Regions from separate parts of the Homo sapiens genome. Here regions 2, 3 and 4 are each linked to region 1. The links are contacts of gene promoters, found by promoter capture Hi-C in blood cells and fetal thymus (Javierre and others, 2016). All regions are on one chromosome and are shown on one strand. Each heading gives the region's core, a stretch centred on a gene start or on the middle of the fragment in contact. The rest is flanking DNA. Distances are from core to core; before and after follow the strand shown. Region 1 holds the start of MAP3K7 (mitogen-activated protein kinase kinase kinase 7). Region 2 overlaps RNGTT (RNA guanylyltransferase and 5'-phosphatase). Region 3 has its middle 9.5 kb from the start of PNRC1. Region 4 overlaps RRAGD (Ras related GTP binding D).

The links. The method cuts DNA at HindIII sites, captures the fragments that hold promoters and counts their contacts. A CHiCAGO score of 5 or more calls a contact.
Region 2: a contact is called between a fragment that was not itself captured here and the fragment with the promoter of MAP3K7 in region 1, in 7 of 17 cell types (non-activated CD4 T cells, fetal thymus, total CD4 T cells and 4 more). The highest score is 9.3, in non-activated CD4 T cells.
Region 3: a fragment that was not itself captured here is called in contact with the fragment with the promoter of MAP3K7 in region 1 in 1 of 17 cell types (fetal thymus); the score reaches 5.9 in fetal thymus.
Region 4: a contact is called between a fragment that was not itself captured here and the fragment with the promoter of MAP3K7 in region 1, in 5 of 17 cell types (fetal thymus, activated CD4 T cells, total CD8 T cells and 2 more). The highest score is 7.7, in fetal thymus.

The regions. Positions count from the first base shown.
Region 1 is chr6:90,585,478-90,588,555 of GRCh38, reverse strand. MAP3K7 (mitogen-activated protein kinase kinase kinase 7) reads left to right here and starts at 1,484. Exons shown (of 17, transcript NM_145331.3): 1 at 1,484-1,792. The coding sequence starts at 1,673. It overlaps LOC124901363 (a long non-coding RNA gene), which reads right to left and starts at 1,762. Exons shown (of 2, transcript XR_007059680.1): 1 at 601-1,762. RefSeq lists silencers at 1,352-1,548, 1,545-1,664. The HindIII fragment of the contact is 2,842 bases long and covers 1,053-3,078 here.
Region 2 is chr6:88,957,402-88,960,479 of GRCh38, reverse strand. The region is part of intron 1 of RNGTT (RNA guanylyltransferase and 5'-phosphatase); the gene reads left to right. Among named protein-coding and RNA genes, the nearest start is that of RNGTT, 4.7 kb to the left of the region's middle. The HindIII fragment of the contact is 1,322 bases long and covers 769-2,090 here.
Region 3 is chr6:89,088,711-89,091,788 of GRCh38, reverse strand. It overlaps the pseudogene RN7SL336P. Among named protein-coding and RNA genes, the nearest start is that of PNRC1, 9.5 kb to the right of the region's middle. The HindIII fragment of the contact is 7,002 bases long and covers 1-3,078 here.
Region 4 is chr6:89,406,864-89,409,941 of GRCh38, reverse strand. All of the region lies in intron 1 of RRAGD (Ras related GTP binding D), which reads left to right. Among named protein-coding and RNA genes, the nearest start is that of RRAGD, 3.9 kb to the left of the region's middle. The HindIII fragment of the contact is 4,923 bases long and covers 1-3,078 here.

The DNA of each region.
Region 1 (3,078 bases), core at 235-2,734:
GTGAAAATGACTGTCCCACTGATTATATCAGCTTCTACTGGGTATCAGTGCACCACGCATCATTTCACATGCCCTGATTTCTCACTTGGACAACCAACTGGGTGATGGCATCCTTAAGTGACATAGGAAAATAACATAGGAATATATTTGTGGTGGGTGACAACTTTTGAATTTGCTGTGGTATCTTGAAGTTTAGGTGTTTGTCTAAGTAGAGATGACCAATAGGTCCAGAATTCAGGAAAAATCTTGAGTATTTGGAGATTAGGAGTCATCATTATAAAAATAGTATGAGAAACAGAGACCTTGGGTAAGAGCATGCAAAGAGAGAGTGTACAGTGAAAAGAAATTATCGTTTCTTTCATTTTTTTATCCACTCATCAAACTGTCACTGCGTGTCACTAGAACTACGAATAAAAAGTGACAGAATGTTTCCCAGGAGTTTGTAACTTCTTGATGGTCAAATCCAATGATCTATTTGCAATCCCAAATGTGTTTAACATAATTCCACAGTTAGGCTTTATGTCAAACGGACTATATAAAATTCAACAGTTAGTTTAAAACTAAAACTTGTGCTGGTAGTACAACATGAGCAATACTGACCATCTTGGGGACAGAATGATCTAGTTTGTGAGGACCATAATTGCTTTAAACTCTCAGCGTGTTTTCTCATGTCCTGAAAATGGTGACAAAAATATTCGATTTTCAAGGCGACTGTTGATGATTCATTTACCAATCTAAAGCACTAGTGCCCCGCACTCGTAATCCATAACTTGAGATGAACACACCAAATTATAAATATCTTATTCACCTAATCCGTGGAAAGTTTGTAACACCAAAATATTAACTTCTGTTCTTGATCACTCAGCCTCCATAGTTATTCATGTTGCATGATCTGATTCGCTCTTTTAGAATTTCTCATAGCGTCAGGTACTAGCTCAAAATAACAGGAGCAACTGCTTCTTTCCATATCCCACATTGAGGAAAACACATTTTGCAAGCCGTCTTAAAGAAACAGGTCAACTTAGTTTAGGGATGAAACTTAAAAGTAAGCTTCGTCACAAAAAACACAGTTCAACACCACCTCGCCCGGCTGCAGGCAGCTCAGAGGACAGGAAGTGAGGCCAAGACATATTTCACGCAGCACAGACTAAACCCCAGCTTTTATCTTTCCCGCTGGTCCTTAAGGGACCAACCGTACTGATTTTCCGTCATGTTCCGCGCCACTTCCGTTCGCGCACTTTAATTACGTCAGGCGTCCTCTCTCGCGGTATCATCCGGTTGCTGAGGCCCTGTAATAAAGGTCTCGCGAAATTTGTTCTAGAGGTCCAAGTTTGCTTCTTAGCTTACTCCACCCCACCCCCAACCTGTCCCTCCTTTTCTTTCCAAGTCACAAAATTCTCCCCTCCCCTACCCCGGAGTTTACGGCCCTCCTCCTGTTTCCGATTTCAGCCCGGAACCGGAAGTGTAGTGGGCGGGGCCCGTCGGCGGAAAACGCAGCGGAGCCAGAGCCGGACACGGCTGTGGCCGCTGCCTCTACCCCCGCCACGGATCGCCGGGTAGTAGGACTGCGCGGCTCCAGGCTGAGGGTCGGTCCGGAGGCGGGTGGGCGCGGGTCTCACCCGGATTGTCCGGGTGGCACCGTTCCCGGCCCCACCGGGCGCCGCGAGGGATCATGTCTACAGCCTCTGCCGCCTCCTCCTCCTCCTCGTCTTCGGCCGGTGAGATGATCGAAGCCCCTTCCCAGGTCCTCAACTTTGAAGAGATCGACTACAAGGAGATCGAGGTGGAAGAGGTGAGCGAGGCCCGGCATGGAGACGCCGGTCCCGGCCTGCCCCGCCCCCGCCTCTGCCTGGTGCCGGCTCTGAAGGTGCCTCCCGGGGCCCCTCTAATTCGCGGGACCCTGCGGGGTCCACCCGGGAGACCCCACAGCCCTCAGTAACGTGGGAGTGGGGGTTACTCTCTGAGCTCAACTGCTCGGGAGTAGCTGCCTTTTTTCCTCTCTTGGGTACTCTTGATTTTGGATTTGATATTCCGGTGATAAACAGGAGAATGAACTGGTGAGATAGTGTGGTCCACCAGTTCTCGTATCTGTAAGTAGTAGTTTCAGCGAAGATCGTAGCCGTTCTGGAGTTTCAGTCCGCTGGACGTAATGTTCTTTTTTTTTTTTTTTTTTTTTTGAGACGGAGTCTCGCTCTGTCGCCCAGGCCGGACTGCGGACTGCAGTGGCGCAATCTCGGCTCACTGCAAGCTCCGCTTCCCGGGTTCACGCCATTCTCCTGCCTCAGCCTCCCGAGTAGCTGGGACTACAGGCGCCCGCCACCGCGCCTGGCTAATTTTTTGTATTTTTAGTAGAGACGGGGTTTCACCTTGTTAGCCAGGATGGTCTCGATCTCCTGACCTCATGATCCACCCGCCTCGGCCTCCCAAAGTGCTGGGATTACAGGCGTGAGCCACCGGGCCCGGCCGGACGTAATGTTCTTAATGGCCAAAGATTGTATTATATTCGACTTCTACTTCAGTACCTGGCATGTAGGGGATGCTCAATAAATGCTTGTTAAATTAGTAGATCATCAAGTCTAATAAAGTGTTTCCCTTAGCACCGAATGGTTCTCAATTTCTCCGATACCGCACAGCAATACTCGTAATGTTTAAATGCTCGGCTTTCAGTTGGGCTAATGTAGGTGAATTTCACCATAAGTAACATAGACTGGTCTACGATCAAAAGATGTTTCAAGTAGCATATTCTGAAGAGATAACGAATGATTTCGGTGACAATCAGAATATAATATTAGACTAGAAATCGCTATCAGAAAACCCATATCCTTTCTTTATTCTGCAGTAATTTATTTTAGAACAAGATATTTCAAAGTGACTTTAAAGCGTCGTTTTTCAAATTAACAGGTAAATTGGGTTCTAATGACTATAAAATTTAGAAAAGTAAAAACTGCATATATATTTTTTAAAGACACTTTAGAACTTGTTAAAAACTTTGGTTGAAAATACTATCTCTTACCATTTATTTGCCATTTTTTAAATTTATTAAGCACTTTGCGTTATATAGTCCATGAAAAACCTAGT
Region 2 (3,078 bases), core at 180-2,679, 1.6 Mb after region 1:
TTACAGGTGTGAGCTACCGCACCCAGCCCTCCCTAGTTTCTTAAAGATATATCATTCAACATAAAATTATTTCATATCTGCTATGTAAAGAGCTTACTAGGAACTGTGGGAATGTAAATATGAGACACAGCCAGGTGCATTGGCACATACTTGTGGTCCCAGGTACTCAGGATAGTGTGATGGTGATAGTGATGGTGATTTTGAAGTCATTTTATTTAGCAAATATTTAAATGTCTACTTTGTGCTAGTCCTGGGTGCTAGGGAGATGGCTAAGATATATTACCCTTAAAAAGCAGAGTCTCATGGGAGTAGCAAACCATCCATTTTAAGCACAGTTCTGTTGTAAAAAATGTAGCAATGACTCTATTGTGGTATATGATGGGAATCAGAGGTAATAAACCTAATTCTTTGAGGTTGAGGAAGAAGAGATGGGAAGGAAGAAGGAGATCAGGTGAGACTTCCCAGAGAAGGTCATACATGAATTATCTTCAGTAAATAGAAGTTTTCTAGATAAATAGTTGGCAGGGGGTGTTATTGAAAGTTTCTGTTAGGATAGGATGATGATGGGAGAGATAATAGACTGAAAAAGTGTCTTTGTTCTGGAAGATGTAAGTGAGGTTAAGAGGTTGGAGAATAGCCTGATCATACAGGCAAGTAGGGTGTGATAAGGTATCCTAATATTTATATGCTTTAAATTTTCAGTGGCATACAATTGCAGTTTTTTTTTTCAGCATCGAGATGAGATTATTTGAATCCAAGTTAAAAGCTTACTTTGACTTTTCTGTGTTTAATGAATTGATGGAGAAAAGAGTGGAAATGGAGAGACTAATTAGGAACTTGTTGTAGTCCAGGTGAAAGACAATAGTGATAGTTTAAAAGTGACAGATGAAGAGTAGAAGGCTAATTTGAGAGATATTAAGAAGGGAAAATGGACAGAACTTGATGTCGTATTTAGAATGAGGGAAAGAGGGTCAAAATTTAGTCTCAAATGTCTGGCTTATGCACATGAGATAGTTGATATTATTAGGGCTTACTGAGAGAGAAGCAGGTTGGAGGAGATATTAAGATCCTGATTGCTCAAATAGAGATCTTTAGTAAAGATCTTTTTAAAAAACATTTTTATGTTATTTCAGTAGTTTTTGGGGGACAGGTGGTTTTTGGTTACATGGATAAGTACTTCAGTGATGATTTCTGAGATTTTGGTGCACCTGTCACTCAAGGAGTGTACACTGTAGTAGTCTTTTATCCCTCATCCCCCCTCTCCACACTTCCCCCTGAGTACCCAAAGTCCATTATATCATTGTTATGTCTTTGCATTCTCATAGCTTAGCTCCCACTTACAAGTGAGAACACAGGATATTTGGGTTTCCATTCCTGAGTTACTTCACTTAGAATGATGGGGTCCAACTCCATCTAGGTTGCCATGAATGCCATTATTTCATTCCTTTTTATGGCTGAGTAGTATTCCATGGTATATATACATATCACATTTTCTTTATCCACTCATTGGTTCTTGGGCATTTAAGCTGGTTCCACATTTTTGCAATTGCAAATTGTGCTGCTGTAAACATGCCTGTGCAAGTGGCTTTTTCAGATAATGACTTATTTTCTTCTGGGTAGATACCCAGTAGTGGGATTGCTGGATCAAATGGTAGTTCTTCTAGTTCTTCAAGGAATCACCATACTGTTTTCCCTAGTGGTTGTAATAATTTACATTCCCACCAGCAGTGTAAAAGTGTTACCTTTTCCCCACATTCATGCCAACATCTAATATTTTTTGATATTTTAATTATGGCCATTCTTGCAGGAGTAAGGTGGTATCTCATTGTAGTTTTAATTTGCATTTCCTTGATAGTGATGTTGAACATTTTTCATATGCTTCTTGGCCAACTGTATATCTTCTTTTGTCTGTTCATGTCCTTTGTCCACTTTTTGATGGGATTATTTGTTTTTTTCTTGCTCATTTGTTTCAGTTCCTTGTAGATTCTGGATATTAGTTCTTTGTCAGATGCATAGTTTGCGAAGATTTTCTCCCACTCTGTGGGTTGTCTGTTTACTCTGCTGATTATTTCTTTTGCTGTGCAGAAGCTTTTTAGTTTAATTAGGTTCCATCTATTTATTTTTGTTTTTGTTGCATTTGCTTTTGGGTTCTTGGTCACGAACTCTGCCTAAGTCAATGTCTAGAAGAGTTTTTTCCAATGTTATCTTCTAGAATTTTTATGGTTTCAGATCTTACTTAAGTTTGAGTTGATCCATCTCCAGTTGACTTTGTATAAGGTGAGAGATGAGTTTCATTCTTCTACGCGTAGCTTGTTAGTTATCCCAGGACCATTTGTTGAATAGGGTGTCCTTTCCCCACTTTATGCTTTTGTTTGCTTTGTCAAAGATCAGTTGGCTGTAAGTGTTTGGCTTTCTTTCTGGGTTCTCTATTCTGTTCCATGGGTCTGTGTGCCTATTTTTATACCAGTACTATGCTGTTTTGGTTACTATAGTCTTGTAGTATAATTTGAAGTTGGGTAATGTGATGCCTTTACATTTGTTCTTTTTTGTTTGCTTACCTTGGCTATTTGGGCTCTTTTTTGGTTCAATGAATTTTAGGATTGCTTTTTCTGGTTCTGTGAAGAATGATGATGGTACTTTGATGGGAATTGCATTGAATCTAAAGATTGCTTTTGGCAGTATGATCATTTTCATAGTATTGATTATACCCATCTATGAGCATGGGATGTGTTTCCATTTGTTTGTGTCATCTGTGATTTATTTCAGTAGTGTTTTGTAGTTTTCCTTTTAGAGATCTTTCACCTCCTTGGTTAGGTATATTCCTAAGTATTCTATTGTTATTATTTTTTTTATGCAGCTGTTGTAAAAGGGATTGAGTTCTTGATTTGATTCTCAGCTTGGCCATTGTTGGTGCATAGCAGTGCTACTGATTTGTGTACGTTGATTTTGTATCCTGAAACTTTAAAGAATTCATTTGTCAGATTTGGGAGCTTTTTGGATGAGTCTTTAGGGTTTCCTATGTATACAATCATATCATCAGTGAACAGTGACAGTGTGACTTCCTCTTTACCAATTTGG
Region 3 (3,078 bases), core at 290-2,789, 1.5 Mb after region 1:
TACATATATTTTTTCATATAGAAATTCAAATGTCCCAGCACCATTACTGAATACCAGTAATGGCGATGTTTCTGGGACTTGATCTGCAGTACCACATTAAGTGCCATGTATCAGGTTTCTATATATGCTCCATTATAATCTTCTTAAAAACATGGATGAAAATTTTATATTCTAAAGTACAAATAGTCCTTTATATACAAAGCTCTGAGCTGCCTATCAGTGGTCAAATGTAACTGATACTCATTTGGGCTTTTGTGACCACACCTTGTCCACCCTTTATTTTGACCAAAAGATTGTAGTTTCAGTGTCTATCATAGAAAGTGGAACTACATCACTTAAGGAATAATTTCATACAATGCTTTTAGCATCTCATTTACTCCACTGGTGTTAACTCAGCATTAAAGGCTTTAAAAGGCAGGAAACAGTGAAATGTTAAGAGTTGCACACTGCCTTACACTCTACTCCCTAGTCACTTCAGTGCTAAGTAGCCCTCAGTCAGCCCCTTTCTTTTCTGGGGACATGCATCTTTTTTTTTTTTCTTTTTTAAGAGACAGGGTCTTGTTATGTTGCCCAGACTGGAGTGCAGTGGCTATTCGCAGGCATGATCCCACTACTGATCAGCGCAGGAGTTTTGACCTGCTTGTTTCCAATCTGGGCCAGTTCACCCCTCATTAGTAAATCTGGTGGTCCCCCTTCCTGGGAGGTCACCATACTGATGCTGAACTTAGTGTGGACCCCCAACTGGCATAGCACAGTACAGCCCAGAACTCTTGGACTCAAGCCATCCTCCTGCCGCAGCTTCCCAAGTAGTTGGGACTACAGGCACGCGCCACCGTACCTGGCGACATTCTTCATAAACACATTTCCTTTTGCTGCTTGCAGTTTGTTATTCCACTTTCATTTCTTTAACTCTCTTCTCAAACCACGGACAGTTATAAATCCCTTTCAGAATCTTTGTAGAAATAGTCTCACTACGTTGCCAGGTCTCAAATGCCTGGCCTCAAGTGATCCTACTGCCTCGGCCTCCCAAAGTGCTGGGATTACAGGCGTGAGCACCAAACCAAGCCCTTTTCAGAATCTTTATAATCCCAATTTACCTCTTTATCCTTCTCTAATTATTCTTCAAGTATTAACATTTATGTTAATGTTAACATTAACATAACAGATAACATTAACATTAAATGTTATCTGTCACATTTCCTAAATAAGCCAGTGCTTAAATATGTTATTGTTTCTCTAATCTTTCAGCTCTTATTTACAATGGCCTTGGTGTTTCTGTCATTAACTAGAGTTCTGTTTTTTTAGATGTTATAACCAACTAGCCAACCTACTTGAAAATGCAGAGGAAAACATTCAGAAGGTTCAAAGTTTACAACCTCATAAGATCAGCTTATTTGTGCTGTATGCTACATATAAGTGAGCTTTTAGAATTATTAGTAAAAAAAAAAAAAAAAAAGCAAATATTCAAATTATATATAATGTTGGAGTGAACCAGTAAAGCAGCCTTAATTTTCCCTAACTCTATTTTCTTTAACACTTTATTATAAAAATCTTCAGTATAAAAAAATGTTAAATGTAGCTGAATTTTAAAGTGGAACATCCATATACCCACTACCTAGATTCTACAGTTAGCAGTTAATTACACCTGCTTTGCCACATATATTTCCATCTATCCCCCAAGTATTTTGAATTTAACAAAGTATTTCAAAAAAAACCTGGAATATTCATACATGAGGTATTCTAATTAGCTAAAGTACAGCCAGAAAACCTTGGTTGAATACCTTTCATAAACAATTCTGTTTTCTTATTTTTGAAATTCAGGATCTGGTCTCAGGCATCACATGATTACAGGAACTTAAGAAATAGACCTGGATGGTTAAGGAGACTGGACTGAATGAACAGTGACTCTAAGAGCCTTGAAAGTCTGGTAGAAAAGGGACATTTCCAGTCTTTGATAGTAATCCTTTCTAAAATTTGAGAGCATTAAATGCCTAGTCATTTGAAGAGTAAGGTTAATTTTGCTCAACTTTGGAAGGGATTGTTGAAAGCCCTTGTTTTATAGTTAGAAAATCCCCTCAAATTGTAACTTATCCAAAGGTTTGATGGGACCAAAAAGCCCTCTGATTCCATGTTGTCAAGTAAAGTGAAATAATAAAGATCTTGTATTTAAAAATCTTACTGTTAGTAGGCAATTGTGAGTTCAATTTAAATCAAACATTTGCAATTGGAAATAACCAAAAATCATCAAAATGGCTACAAAAAGGAAGAAATCACTTAAAAACCCTGAAAACAAAAAGGGAAAACGTTTTCGGCTGGGCTTGGTGGCTCACTCCTGTAATACCAACACTTTGCGAGGCCGAGGCCAGTGGATCACTTGAGCTCAGGAGTTTGAGACCAGCCTGGACAACACAGTGAAACCACATGTCCACGTCCCTGTAGTCCCAACTACTCAGGAGGCTGAGGTGGGAACATCACTTGAAACCAGGAGGCAGAGGTTGCAATGAACTGTGATCGCACCACTCATTGCACTCCAACCTGCATGACAGAGCAAAACCCTGTCTCAAATAGAAAAGGCCCAGTGGGGTGGCTTATGCCTGTAATCCCAGCACCTTGGGAGGCTGAGACAGGCAGATCACTTGAGGCCAGGAGTTCGAGACCAGCCTGGCCAACATGGCGAAACCCTGTGTTTACTAAAACTATCAAAGTTAGCCAAACAGGGCGGCGTGCACCTGTAGTCCCAGCTACTTGGGAAGCTGAGGCAGAATCACTTGAACCCAGGAGGTGGAGGTTGCAGTGAGCCAAGATTGCACCACTGCACTCCAGCTTGGATGACAGAGTGAGACTCTGTCTCCAAAAAAAGAAAACATTTCTACTTGCCATCCCTTGCCCAAGATCCTAAAATGCCAAGATGCCAAGAACACATTTGTAATTTGCATTTGACAATGTCAGATTAACAAACTCTAATCTTGGAATAAGAGAACTATCTGTAATAATTTAGTAGGAGCAGCCATGTATATATAACCAGCTTTGGAGGAGTGTGATTATCATCTAGTGTCTTTACAACCAGACATAACACAT
Region 4 (3,078 bases), core at 397-2,896, 1.2 Mb after region 1:
CTATAAAAGGATTAAATATATTTATATTGTGAGAAGAGCAACATGTTTGCTCGGCAAACGTTGCTTAAGCCTGGTCTCTGTCCACCTGGGCCTGCAGTGGATAGGTGGTCTGCTTCTCAGACTTCCTCCGTTATATTTTGGCCTCTGTTCTTTCCAGATTTCCCTGGCTTTGACTTTTGGGTTTAGGCCTTGATGCAGAATCCCTTGTCAGGACATTTGCTCTCTAGTGTCAGATAGGCTCCTCAGTCAGCAATTCCAGCGAGGACTGCTCCTGATGGCTGTCAGGCCAGCTGATATGGTCTGGGGAGTGGGGATTGGGAGGAGGAGGTTGGGAGTTGTGACTTCCCTTCCTGTGCCCTTCAAAAGGCTGATTCACGTGTTGCATTATAATCTTGTTTTATTTTTGGTAAAATTTACATTTACCTACTCTCAAACTTAAGAAATAGAATGTAGGGAAAAAAAGGAGTTATTCTGAGAAAAGATGTACTTTGAACCACTAGCAAAGCATTTCTCTAATGAACCCCCACTCCCCTTTCCCCTTCCTAATAGCTTGGTTTAGTGCCTGCACTTAGTGGAGACGTGGGACTTTTTCCACTAAGTTCAGAAATCTACCCTGGTGGGTGGGAGGCTGAGGGTGGGATGTGGGACCAACTAGTATTGCCAGTTAAGTTGCAAAGCAATTTATCAGGAGCTGTGCAAGAGAAGTGGACTAAAGGTGGATATGTAATGCAATTTTCATTTCCCTCAGTCTGTAGGACTTATAAAGGAACCTCTGGTCTTATTTTTAAACCGAGTATGCCTTGTAAATTTTACCACATTGTACTGAGTTTGAAAACATAGGGCAACTAAGGTGAGACTTAAATTGCACTTCTCTGGCTTCCACTCCATATTTTATTCATGAATAGCAAAAGTGTTCTCAGGCACATTAGTTCTGTTAGGGCAGATTTGGGCACCTCTCAACCTTCCTTTCATGGTAGTTAATTGCAGGTAAGGTGAGTCTCACCTTCAATCCCCACACTCCAGATAAAACTACCAGAGAGGAGGGAATGGTTAGGCCGTTAAAAACAATTGCACCAAAAATAATGATTATTTTTAGATTCATGGACTTTAAATCTTTTGATAAATTACTGTGCTTTAAAAACTGTAATAACAGGGAAAGCAATTACAAGATCATATTTAATCAGAAAGTAAAATTGTTTTCCCCCCAAAACCCCTCCCATTTTTTAGGAGAAACTTGGCTAACGTAAGCTGCTCACCCACAGTCCAGTGAAGTTCGGTCTTTGCCTTCATAGCAGCCTGTGCGCACCCTTAGGGTCTGAGGAAGTGACTGTGTAGGTGGTTTCTGGAGGCATGAAAGATCCAGGGTCTTCCTTCCTGAAGGATGTAGATGGGGTGAATCCAGCAATTCATATGTATTAATCATTAGTTCATTAATGTTAGCCTTTTGTGGGGAAGGGACTGGGTCTCTCTATATTGCCTAGGCTGGTCTCGGACTTGTGGGCTCAAGCAATCTTCCTGCTTCAGCCTCCCAAGTAGCTAGGATTATAGGCATGCATGACTGTGCATGGCTTTTTCCTAAAATAATTTTAAAAATATTAGGGAATTCACCTTTTCATTGTTCCTTGGAAGTAAGTAGAGATAACAGTTATACTGATACTGAAATCATGGCTCAGAGATACCAGGGGGCTTTTCTACTGCCCTATCATGAGCTAGAAATGAGCGAAGTATTTAGAAGAGGATCAAGTATATGGAAATGTAAGCCCCTTTTCTTGTAATTCTGCCTTATCCAAAAAGAGCTGGCTTGACTACAGCCCTGGACACAGCTTATCTCTTAGATTTCCTTCTGGCCCTGGAAATACAGAAGAGTTGGAACAGATGAAACTACATAATAGGTTAAAATGATGTGCCCAAAGTTAAACTTTAGGTAAATACTTGTTCGAATGCCTGTATTTAGAGAGTATCTTTCTATATCAGATGTTTTATAAACCTGTGTCAGTGATTCAGGGCATCAGAGAGTACTGACTCTCTACTTTTATTAGCGATCTCTTCCATTTTAATACTAGATAGAGGGTAGTCTAATGGAAACGGGAGGCACAAACAGCAAGTTCTGGATAAGAGCCGATGACTTTGGGTTTGAGAGATCATCTTTTGTCTTTCAAAGATAACTGAGTCTGCCCCAAGTTCACCCCCTGTGTTATTCAATCCTCCCCCAGCCCATAGTAAATGCTGGTGACAATCAATTTCACTTTTAGCACAGACACTTCGTTCCTGCTCATTTTTCTTCTTTCTTTCCTTCTTTTGAGATGGAGCCTCACTCTGTTGCCCAGGCTGGAGTGCAGTGGCATGATCTCGGCTCACTGCAACCTCCACCTTCTGGGTTCAGGTGATTCTCCTGCCTCAGCCTCCCCAATAGGTGGGATTGATTACAGGTGCCCACCACAATGCCCAGCTAATTTTTGTATTTTTAGTAGAGATGAGGTTTCACCATGTTGACCAGGCTGGTCTTAAACTCCTGACCTCAAGTGATCCACCTGCCTTGGCCTCCCAAAGTACTGGGATTACAGGCATGAGCCACCGCGCCCGGCCTCTTCCTTCTTTCTTCTCTACCTCCTTTATTCTTTTGGTATCCTTTTATTTTTTAAAAAAATATTTTTTGTTCTCCCTCCTGTGCCAGAGCCTTAGAGTTCTCTTGTGATGGCCTTTCCTGGTTCTGCTGTGACACTGCAGACAAAAAGTTTCTTCACTCCTGGGCTACAGGGTCCAGGGTGCTTGCTGGTCGACCTTCTCCTCTTGTGGTCCTCTGAGAAAGACTTCGGCTCCATTTCTCAGTGTATAAAATAGAGGACTGCGTAAAGCCAACCTTAGTGCACTCTCAAAGTGATTGTTAAAAAGTTTGTAAGAATACCTTTCCCTTTTTGCAGGCACATTGGTAAATCAGAACATTTTTACCAATGTAAAACGGGAAAAGTTCGCTTGTCCCCCTTGCAGGGTGTGTGATGGGGGTTTGGCTAGATTCTTAAGTGCTCTGCTGCTCAAACCTCTAGGGGAGCACACAGACAGGCAAGCTGTGGGGCTCTG